Linked DNA regions of Homo sapiens: regions 1 and 3 are each linked to region 2. Evidence: promoter capture Hi-C in 16 types of primary human blood cells and fetal thymus (Javierre and others, 2016). All regions are on one chromosome and are shown on one strand. The core of a region is centred on a gene start or on the middle of the fragment in contact, and the rest is flanking DNA. Distances in the headings are between cores, read along the strand shown.

Region 1 (3,563 bases), core at 627-3,126, 530 kb after region 2:
ATAAAAGCAGTGTTTAAAAACGAAGGGAGAGGAAGACAAAAGAGAGGAAAGCGGAGAGAGAAACGGGAGGAGACGGAGAGAAGCAAGGAATCCCAAACTAGACTGCTAGATTCTGCTAGATTCGGCTTTTCAGAGTAAAGACTCTGAGCAATAGTGCCATCTTGTGGCTATGAGTAGGAATTACAATTAGTTTTCTCTCTCTCTCTCTCTCTCTCTCTCTCTCTCTCTCTCTCTCTCTCTCTCTCTCAATCTCTCTCCCCCCCTCCCTCCCTCCCTCTCTCTCTCTCTCTCTCTCTCTTTCTCTCCCCCTCCCTCCCTCCCTCTCTCTCTCTCTCTCTCTCTCTCTCTGTCGTCTACTCATGGTGTTTGCAACTGCAGGGGCACAAGCCATGGATTTTGTTTCCACCCGAGACAATTGCCTCTCCCCCGACACCTACACCCCAAACTACTCCAGACTCTGCACCCTCTTCTACACACCTCTGGGGTGAGTCCACATTTGCCCAGTAGAAATACCTGCTATCTGATGTTTGACTCAACTCTAAGACTCATTCAACAAATATTTATTGTGCTTTTATTATGTGCCAGGCACTGTCCTAAGATCTGCGGACCTGACTATAAATAAAAATGTCTCCTTTCATGCACTTTACATTTTAACTAGGGAGGCAAATATTAAACACATACATGTAAAATATAATGGGATGTAGTAACAAGTGCAATAAAGGAAAATAAGGCAGGGGATTCAGGGCTATTTCAGATAGGGTAATTGATGAGCTACAACTTTTTTTTTTTTTTTCAGAGATAAGGTCTTGGTGTGTTGCCCAGGCTGGTCTTGAACCCCTAGCCTTAAGCAGTCCTCCTGCCTCAGCCTTCCAAAGTGCTGGGATTACAGGTGTGAGCCACTGTGCCTGGTGCAGTCGCAACTTTTATCAGCACAGATATCTGCTAATATCTGTGCAAAGGCATAGATGAGGTGAGGGAGTAGGGCAGGTGAGTATCTGAGGGAAAAAGGACCTACAAACACAAAGACCAAAGCCGTCTGTCTGGATCTTCCCTGAGATGTGACTCCAGAGTAGCAGCCAAAGAATATGACACTCAGGAAGTCATCTAGGGTTCGAGGTGCTAAAGCCAACTTTTTTCTTTTTCCTTTTTTGAGACAAGGTCTTTCTCTGTTACCCAGGCTGGAATGCAGTGGCGCAAACACGGCTCACTGCAGCCTTGATCTCATGGACTCAATTGATCCTCCCACCTCAGCCTCCCTAGTAGCTGGGACTACAGGTGGGTGACCCCATGCCCGACTAATTTTTGTATTTTTTGTAGAGATGATTTTGCCATGTTGCCCAGCCTGGTCTTGAACTCCTGGACTCAAGTGATTCACCCGCCTTGGCCTCCCAAAGTGCTGGGATTGCAGGTGTGAGCCACCATACCCAGCCTAGAGCCAACATTTCTCTTTTTTTCTATGCTTAGCATCCAAAGCTATCTTTATCAAAATCCACCTGCTAAAGCCCCCGCTAGGACAGCATGTGGGGAGGCTCTAGGCCATTCTGGATTCAGGACCTTCTGGCTCCATTCTGAATACAAAAGCTGACTTTTGACGTGAGAAATCTGACACACTCTTCACTCTCTGAGCCCAGGATTTTCTTTGCCAAAGAGCTGGGCTTCTTTCTGTAGCCAGTGGTGATCCCACAAGCTTGCCTTTGCTTATATCAAAGACTCCAGATCTCCAGTTGAATGTCTCCACCAAGACATCAGAGTTGAAATTAAAAAGAGCATTTCTTTCAGAGAATAAGCCCAAGCTTTGGAGATCTGGTTTGTACCCAGTCCCTGTTCCAGGCCAGCCTGCTCTGTCCCTTGCTCATTTAATTTTCTAGGTTAACAAACAGAGCAAAGTTTCCAGGTGTGCTTGCAGAATATCACCTGGAACATTATTTGGAGGAGAGAGGCAGGGTGCTGAGCTTTTTCTGAAGCTTTTTCTGAAGGCTTATATTCTGTAGGTCAGGGAGCCAGTTACTTACAAGTAAAACTGTCCCCAACAAGATTGCTCTATCAGGGCCCATTTGGGGTTGGCTTTTCTAGCATATGAGTCTAGCATATGAATCAGGCCAGGTGTGGTGGCTCACACCGGTAATCCTAGTGCTTAGGGAGGCTAAAGGGAGCCGGTTGCTTGAGACCAGGGGTTTGAGATCAGCCTGGTCAACATAGTGAGACTCCATTGCTACAAAAAATTAAAAAATTACCCAGGCATGGTGGCACGTGCCTGTAGTCCTAGCTAATTGGGAGGCTGAGGCAGGAGGATTGCTTGAGCCCAGTAGTTCGAGGTTGCAGTGAGCCGTGATTGTGCCACTGTACTCCAGCCTGGGTGACAGAATGAGACCCTGTCTCTAAAAAAAATATAAAAATTAAAAAAAAAGTATGAATCAAGTATAGCCTGAGTGGACTCTGGGTGGACAAGGGGACTGGTTTCATCTGGTTACTTGACTCAGAAAGTCAAAAATAGGCTGGGCATGGTGGCTCACGCCTGTAATCCCAGCACTTTGGGAAGTCAGGGTGGATGGATCACTTGAGGTCAGGAGTTCAAGGCCAGCCTGGCCAACATGGTGAAACCCCATCTCTACTAGAAATACAAAAATTAGCTGGGTGTGGTGGCACGCCCCTGTAATCCCAGCTACTCAGGAGGCTGATGTGGGAGAATTGCTTGAACCTGGGAGGCAGAGGTTGCAGTGAGCCTAGATCGTGCCATTGCACTACAGCTTGGGTGACAGATTGAGACCCTGTCTCAAAAAAAAAAAAAAAAAAAAAGTCAAAGATACCTGAGGTCTTTTCTTCAGTGTCTGCATTCTCAATGTTCATTTCATACCCGAGAAGCAAAGCCAGGCAAGGCAGCCTGGTAAATGGGCCCGGATCTTTTCCCAGAGAGCACTTTGTAACCTTGATAACAAGACTCAAATGACCTCCACCAAAATCAAAAACAAAACTAACAAAAGCCCATTTGAATGTTAGAAAACATCTTCACAATGAATCTAGTCTTTCTGTTTTTGTGGTTTCGGCAGCTGCTTTATTTGGGTGTGTTCTTGACAGTCATGGTTTCAGAGGGTTCTTCTATCCAAGAGGAAGTCAGTCCTCTGAAGACCAAGTTTGCGTACTGGACAATTTGAGCTGACAGCAGCTGCCAACTCATGCTCGGCTCTTCACGGTGGACTGTCTCTTGTGCAGGTCAGCTTGTCCTGGCAGATGCTATCCATGGCAGTGCTTCCCTGCCTGGGCCTGGGGAGAGGCCCTCCTGGGAGATTCCTCTTCTGGCTGAGCCTGTACCTGGGCCTGTGTGCAGGTAAGGAAGGCAGGTCATTGCTGCCTTGAAACTAATCCAGTGGATGTACCTGGATCAGAAGACAAAATGAACTCACCAAATGTCAAATCATTGTTAACCAGGGCAAAGACTTACTTGTCCTCTCCCTGCCATGAGAAACAGCTCTGCCAACCACTGTCACATCTCCAGTGAGGGCTCTCATGGTATTTGCAGTGTGTGTGGTTGTTGTTTTTTGGAAGATGGGATCTAGAGAGTAAGA
Region 2 (3,338 bases), core at 412-2,911:
GTGATCCGCCAGCCTCAGCCTCCCAAATTGCTGGGATTACAGACGTGAGCCACCCTGCCCGACCCAAAATTTATCTTTCAACATTCTGTTCCTAATCTAATAAATGTAAGCTTCAACTATGGTCCCTAGACAATTATCCTACAAACCTTCGTTTCCAGGTGTATTATCTCCTAAACTTACAAATGACTCCTAAATCTGGCCATTCTGACCTTTCCAACTCATTAGGACAAGTTAGAAACTATTACTTTTTCTTACATCCAGCGTTACCTATCTTAGCGCCATCACATTCCCAGTTACTTGGGCTGATGACTGCAAACACATGTAAGGTGTACTTTATATACGTGGGTCTTTATATGCTTTCTCACTGAATCCTCACAGCAAGCCTACACGATGGCTAAAAAGAAATGATCCCATAGCTGGGGGAGATTAAGCCAAATACTTTCCAGGACACCAGGCCTTTAACATCTGCCCCAACCTAGCTTTCTAATCTCACCTCTTCTGTAAACATACTACTATTCTCCAACCCAAAAGAACTACTATACTCAATATACACTCGGGCAAGATCTCTAAACCTCTGTCCTGACTTTTCCTTCCAGATTTTTCTATTTCAACTCGATTTCTCTTAATCTTAACTCTAAAAAGCAAACATTTTCCTCCAATTTTATAAGTGAATCTTTGGCACAGAGGTTACAGGTCACTAAGACATGAAGTAACGGAAGCAGAGAATGAAACTCTGGTCTTCCTGATTTCCAACGTGTGCCACACACTTCCACAAAAAAAACAAATAATTGTTTCTTGATTTGCCTATGTTTCACTGCACATGCGGAGACGACATCAACGTAACTTTTCCGCAACTATTTCAAACACGACACGTAAGTCGGTTCCCACATCCATCCCAGTACAATGGGCCCCGCCCCAATTTAGACTCGGAGAGTTCACCCAATTCGTCTCAACAGTTGTGCCAAGTGAAGTTTATTTAATAGTTCTTTAAATAAGAATAACAAAGCTGAAAGATACTGTGCATTCTACCAGTTCCAATAAGCAATAAGCGACAGCCCTCAAGCGTCAGATCCCTAGTGAAGACTGCATGCAATCCTCGGCATTTTGAACTGCTTTCGGCTCCAATATGAATGATGCACAGTGCAGGATGAAAAACTAAGGGAGATTAAGATGCAAAATGGGGCAAGTCCAAAGGCCTCCATACTCCGGGTTGGCGATCATCGGCAGAAAAACAGAAATAAGGATCCCTCCACTGGGCTGCTTCTATAGGGAGGACAAGAGAGGATCACCCGAAGAAATGGGAAATGAGCCAAACCCGCTCAAGCCCACGATGAGAGCGCAGAGCACAACCCCGCGGCGCCGCGGGTCAGGCCATGAGAGTGATACCTTTGGCGGCGGAAATGTTGCTGAAGCGGATCTGGGCTGGCTTGTCGCGGTCCTGATAGGCGCCTTTCCCGCGGCCGCCGGCAGCCCCGGCAGTCGCCCCGCTCCGGGGTGCCACATTCTCGGGCATGGCAAACTCCGCTGTGTCTGGGTTGGCTCGGGAAGGACGGATGGACCCGGATTCTGGCCGGCCGCAGTGTAATAACGGTAAGCCCTCACTGCCTTCACGAACCTTCCAGAAAGCGGCGCCGGCGTCGGGAGGAGGCGGAGGCGGAGAAGGGGGCCTTCCTTGCCGCGCGGCGCTGGCGTGACGTAGGAGGCTGTCCGCTGCGCGCCGGGCGAGGAGGATGCGTGCGGTGGGCTCCGGGCTGGCGAGATTGTACGCCCGGGGCGCTGTGGGTGAAGAGCGCCGGGGGAACCTTTACGCGAGGCAGCAATGACAACGCGCGATTTTAAAGGCGAGTGGTGAGGACATCCGCATTTCCTCACTCCACCTTGCACGGCTATGAGGTCCCCTCCTTTTTTTTTTTTTTTTTTTCTTTTTTTGGATACAGTCTCACTCTGTTGCCCAGGCTGGAGTGCAGTGGCGCAAAATCTCGGCTCACTGCAGCCTCCGCCTCCCAGGTTCAAGCGATCCTCCTCAGCCTCCCGAGTAGCTGGGATTACAGGCGTCCGCCACCATGCCCAGCTAATTTTTGTATTTTTAGTAGAGACAGGGTTTCACCATGTTGGCCAGGCCGGTCTCGAACTCCCGACCTCAGGTGATCCACCCGCCTCGGGCTCCCAAAGTGTTGGGATTACAGGCGTCAGCCACGAAGCCCGGCCTTTTTTTTTTTTTTTTTTTTTTTTGACAGAGTCTCGCTCTGTCGTCCAGGCGGGAGTGCAGTGGGGCGATCTTGGCTCACTGCAGCCTCGACCTCCGGGGCCCAAGCGATCCTCCCGCCACAGCCTCCCAACTAGCCAGGACGACAGGTGCCCGCCACCATGCCTAGCGAATTTTTGTATTCGAAACATAGCGAGACTGGGTTTCGCTGTGTTGCCCAGGCTGGTCTGACCTCCCCGGCTCAAAGCGGTCCACCCTCCTCAGCGTTTCAAAGTACTGGGATTACAGGCGTGAGCCACCGCGCCCACCCGGAGGTGCCCTCCTTTAACTCCGGCTGGATCTATCCGCGAGGTGGGGTGGGCGCCGGAATAACTCTCTAAGGGATATGACTGAGTCTGTTTTTGCCCGGCCACATAGACCTGCATTTTATGCAGTTTTGTTCATTTTGAAAGGGAGTCAGAAAAGGGAGATTTGGAATGAGGCGAGGTTAGTTATCTCGTATTGGTTGATACTGGGTGGTGGAGGTTTGACAGACTGCCAAATCAGGTCTGTCTAGTTACCACCGCCCGCTTGTTCTACACTAGTGTCTCCTGCATGACGTAGCCACTGACTCTTAGGGAACGTAAACATTATAATAAAGATCATTTATTTCCGTTATCTGCTAAGCACAGTGCTAAACCTTTACACGTTTTATATCTCGTTTAGTCCTCACAATAATCCTTTACTTAAAAGGTGAGAGAACTGGAGCCCAAAGAAGGAACTGAAGCCCAGGGTAAACGAGTCAGTAGATAGAAGCAGTATTCCAATACAAAGCAAGGACCAGAAGCCATGAGCTAAACTGCTGGTCTCCTATGACCACTATATTTCAGTAGGGAAGTTTATGAAATGAGGTTTGTTGAATGTTCGCTCACAATTATTAAGCACCTGCAAAGTGACAGTTGCGTGTGGTAGGTTCAGAAACAAATGTTCAAAGGTACTTAATCTTGTAATTATGAGGTGGTGGTGGTGTTGTTTGTTTGTTTGTTTTTGTTTGTTTTTGAGACGGAGTTTCACTCTTGTTGCCCAGGCTGGAGCAGTGGCACCATCTCGGCTCACCGCAACCTCCGCCTCCCGGGTTCAAGCGATTCTCCTG
Region 3 (3,445 bases), core at 57-2,556, 810 kb after region 2:
CACTGCAGGATTTTGGTAATTGTTATCTTGTTCAGCTGTAGGCTGGACAAGACACATGGCAAACAAACTGATTGGCACAAGGTAGTTTTGTGAATAGCTAGAAAGAGTGTTATTACAAGAATAAGAGAAGTTGAACAGTTAACAATATGCCTCCTATTCTTGCTTTAATTGTTCAAGAAAAGAGTGAATATTTCAAATATAATCAAGTTGTGACCTTTAAATATGCTCTTTTTAGCATGTGTTATGTGAAGAAACATGCACAAGTATAACACTCTCCTTTTCCACACTGAAGTATGCTGGTTAGCAGGTGCTCACACATTTTTGAAATGAGAAATGGGACACTGATAATGCAAGACAGTTGTTTCAAGGGGCTCTCTCAATATAGGTAACTCAGTACTATGTTCAATATCTAAAACAGACTCAACTTATTTCAGGGATAAAATATTGTGATTTTTAAAATTTTAAAGATAGCAGGATTTCTTCGGAAGATTGAACTATGGCACAAAAACCTGACTTGCTCAACACTTGAATTTCTTTTCTTGGAGAAAGAGATCAATGATGCATTATTGGGAATATTTTAAAATAGCATCCAAAAGTTGTGACAGAATATGAAGAAATATCCAGCGGCTCTCACAAAGTCATCTTTGCTTCCCAGGCTACGTTCTGATCACTGTAAGCCCAGTCACTAATTGGGTGACTTGCTGTGAAAAGAGAGGCCTGGAACAATATTGCAGCTCTCTCTGGCTCTCATGTTATTGCCCTTGCCCTGGAATTTTTCTCTATCTTGCCCTGCCCAGAAGATTGCCCAAACTGTGCATGAGTTAATCCTGCCCTTTGAAAGCTGGGTTTATTTTCCAGCTCTACTCATCTGGGACAAGCTTCAGCAACAGGGCTACTTTCCCTTGGCTCATGCCCAGTGCCCTGGTAAGTGGAGTTTTGCCTGCTTTCAGCTTGCTTTGAAATTTTGCTTTTTGTGTGTGTGTTCTTTGTACTGTATGGGATGGAAGTGCTTTGGTTTTACACCACAAGGGTTGTAGTCAATGCCCTCCAAGATTATGAATTTCTACCAGCTTTTCTTTGCCTTTCCTGTCTAGCCTTATTATTTCAGAATGATATTAATTATATTATCTTGCTCATACAAATATAATCATCTATGAATTATTCAGAGGAAAACACTGGCTGGATGCTGTATCTGGTTACCTGGATTTTTTTTCCAGTTTTTGAAAACACAGAAGAAGTGAAGCAAAGGTCAGTCTACCCCTTATAATTTGCCAAAGGCTCTTAACATTTCATGGGAAATGACCAGTAAGTCTTGGTCAAGAATCCCTGCTGATTTTATAGGAGATGAATTTATTGAATTTAGCAATGACTTTCTCAGCTGAGGTCTTAATTCCAACTCAAATCTTTGCTGCTATAATCCCAGTAATGGCCCACTTATTTGCAATATGTAAATTATCTCAGCTAGCTGCTTTTACCTTGACATACACATTTGTGGACTGGGACTTCACCATTATGAAAGTATCTTAAGTAGTTAGAAGGCTTAGATTGAGAGGATGCTATAGACCAGCAAGGGCACTCTAGAGTTAGGGCTGGTATTTAGTTAGTCCACAAAGGGACAACTAGGCCAACGTTTACAGTTGTCATCCATTCTAACTGATCAATGCCTATGCCATGTTGTTAACACACTGAATGTCCACACTTTGAATATCATTGTTGCCTGCAATATAAAGATTTCTAAGCTTCTAGTCATTCACTGTGTTGCTCCAGATTAACAACAGAAGTTAGTCCTGCCGAATCACCAGTGGATAGAATCTGTAGATTTGCTTCAGTCTCTACCTGAGTTTCAAGGAAGTCAAGAATGCTCCTCTGCCTCTAGCAACCAAGCCCATGTTGGTCTTTTCTAGATGCTGTGGAGCTGGACAAAATTGTATTTTTAGTATACAACTGAGGTCCTAGAATTAGTGCAATCTTAGGTTCAATGTGCAAAGCTTCATTATGACTAACTTCAAATATTCGTTCATGGGTAACTGCAACAGAAACAATTTCACCAAAGAATACTGTTCCTAATTGAAAGATGGTTTTCTAATGCAGCTTTTCTAAGCTTTTATGTCAACCAAAGAACTTGGGTCCTATAATGATAGAGTAAAAAAAAAAGGCCACCTTTTAAGAGAATAAACATAGGTTTTAAATTATTTTATTAAGAGTTATTATTTAAGGTTATATAACAGGCATAAATCTCAATCTAAAGAAATTCAGGTTGGCAAGAAACACAGTTTTATTTTCCCATTACTCAACCTAATTTCTATTTCAAGCTTTGATTTCACAAGGGGTGGCAAACACTTAATCATAGTCAATTTGGCAGGAACTGCATCTCAATTGAGGGGGCTTACATAGCATCACTATGTTGGGGGAAGGGGATGGGGCATTTAATCCTTGCTTCTCATCTACTATGCTGGCTCCTCTTAGAGTTCTAATATTCATCTTCATTAGCAGCCAGCTCCATGGATTGTTGCTGGGTTGATTTTGGATCATCAGCAAGGACTCTTTTGGTCTGGTGGCTGTGCAGTGCCTCTGTACCCCTCTGGGTGTCTGGAAATTGTGTTGGGCATCCAGAACCTCCACAGTACTATGTAAGTTTGCACTGTCCATTATGGTAGCTACCAGCCACATGTAGCCAATAAATAAATTAAAATTAAATAATATTAAAACTCAACTTCTTCAGTGACACTAGCCACATTTTGCATGTCCAGTAGTTCCAAGTGGCTCATGGCTACTCCATTGGACAGCCATGTAGATATTCATCATAGAAAGTTCTACTGGACTGTGCCACTCCAAAATCTTGGCTGGCCTAGATAACAACCCAGTTTTTTCTTCTCTTAAGGGTCTTGCCACCTCCCCAGGACTCTAATAAGGAGAAAAATATTTCTATTAGCTCTCAGATACCATAGATAGATCCTATCATTTCAGCTGCCCTTCTCCCAAGTTTGTGCCAGAATAGGGTGGGATTAGGTCCTGCTCTCAGAAATCCACTAGCATCCAGCTCTCATTACATCCCCTCCAAGTTCTGTCTTTCCCTTCCAGCCCAGGAAACTCATTTCTCATCTTTGGGAAAGGAAGCTTTACTATTGTCTGTAACAGCACTGTCCAATAGGAATATAATGTGAGGCATATATATAATTTACATTTTTCCAGTAGCTGCATTAAAAAAGAGTAAAGGAACAGGTAAAATTAATTTTACTGTCTTTAATAAACCCAATATAGCCAAAATATTATTTCAATATGTAATCAATATAAATATTATTAATGTATTAATCTTTTTTGCATACTAAGTCTGAAATCAGTATATATTTTATACTTATAGCACATCTCAATTGGGACTAGCCACATTTCAAGTATTCAATAGTCACATGTGGTTAGAGGCGAACAGTGCAGGTCTCTAACAGGA

What was found. The method cuts DNA at HindIII sites, captures the fragments that hold promoters and counts their contacts. A CHiCAGO score of 5 or more calls a contact.
Region 1: a contact is called between a fragment that was not itself captured here and the fragment with the promoter of CCT4 in region 2, in 17 of 17 cell types (naive CD8 T cells, activated CD4 T cells, total CD8 T cells and 14 more). The highest score is 18.7, in naive CD8 T cells.
Region 3: a fragment that was not itself captured here is called in contact with the fragment with the promoter of CCT4 in region 2 in 1 of 17 cell types (monocytes); the score reaches 7.0 in monocytes.

Annotation. Positions count from the first base shown.
Region 1 is chr2:62,412,105-62,415,667 of GRCh38, forward strand. It overlaps LOC105374764 (a long non-coding RNA gene), which reads left to right and starts at 3,089. Exons shown (of 6, transcript XR_002959390.2): 1 at 3,089-3,325. RefSeq lists enhancers at 1-90, 3,251-3,320. The HindIII fragment of the contact is 171 bases long and covers 1,792-1,962 here.
Region 2 is chr2:61,886,995-61,890,332 of GRCh38, forward strand. It overlaps CCT4 (chaperonin containing TCP1 subunit 4), which reads right to left and starts at 1,662. Exons shown (of 14, transcript NM_006430.4): 1 at 1,387-1,662. The coding sequence starts at 1,513. It also overlaps a transcript of COMMD1 not described here. RefSeq lists enhancers at 690-1,251, 1,252-1,811, 1,353-1,432, 2,372-2,931. The HindIII fragment of the contact is 8,675 bases long and covers 109-3,338 here.
Region 3 is chr2:62,698,026-62,701,470 of GRCh38, forward strand. It overlaps a transcript of EHBP1 not described here. Among named protein-coding and RNA genes, the nearest start is that of EHBP1, 6.0 kb to the right of the region's middle. The HindIII fragment of the contact is 861 bases long and covers 877-1,737 here.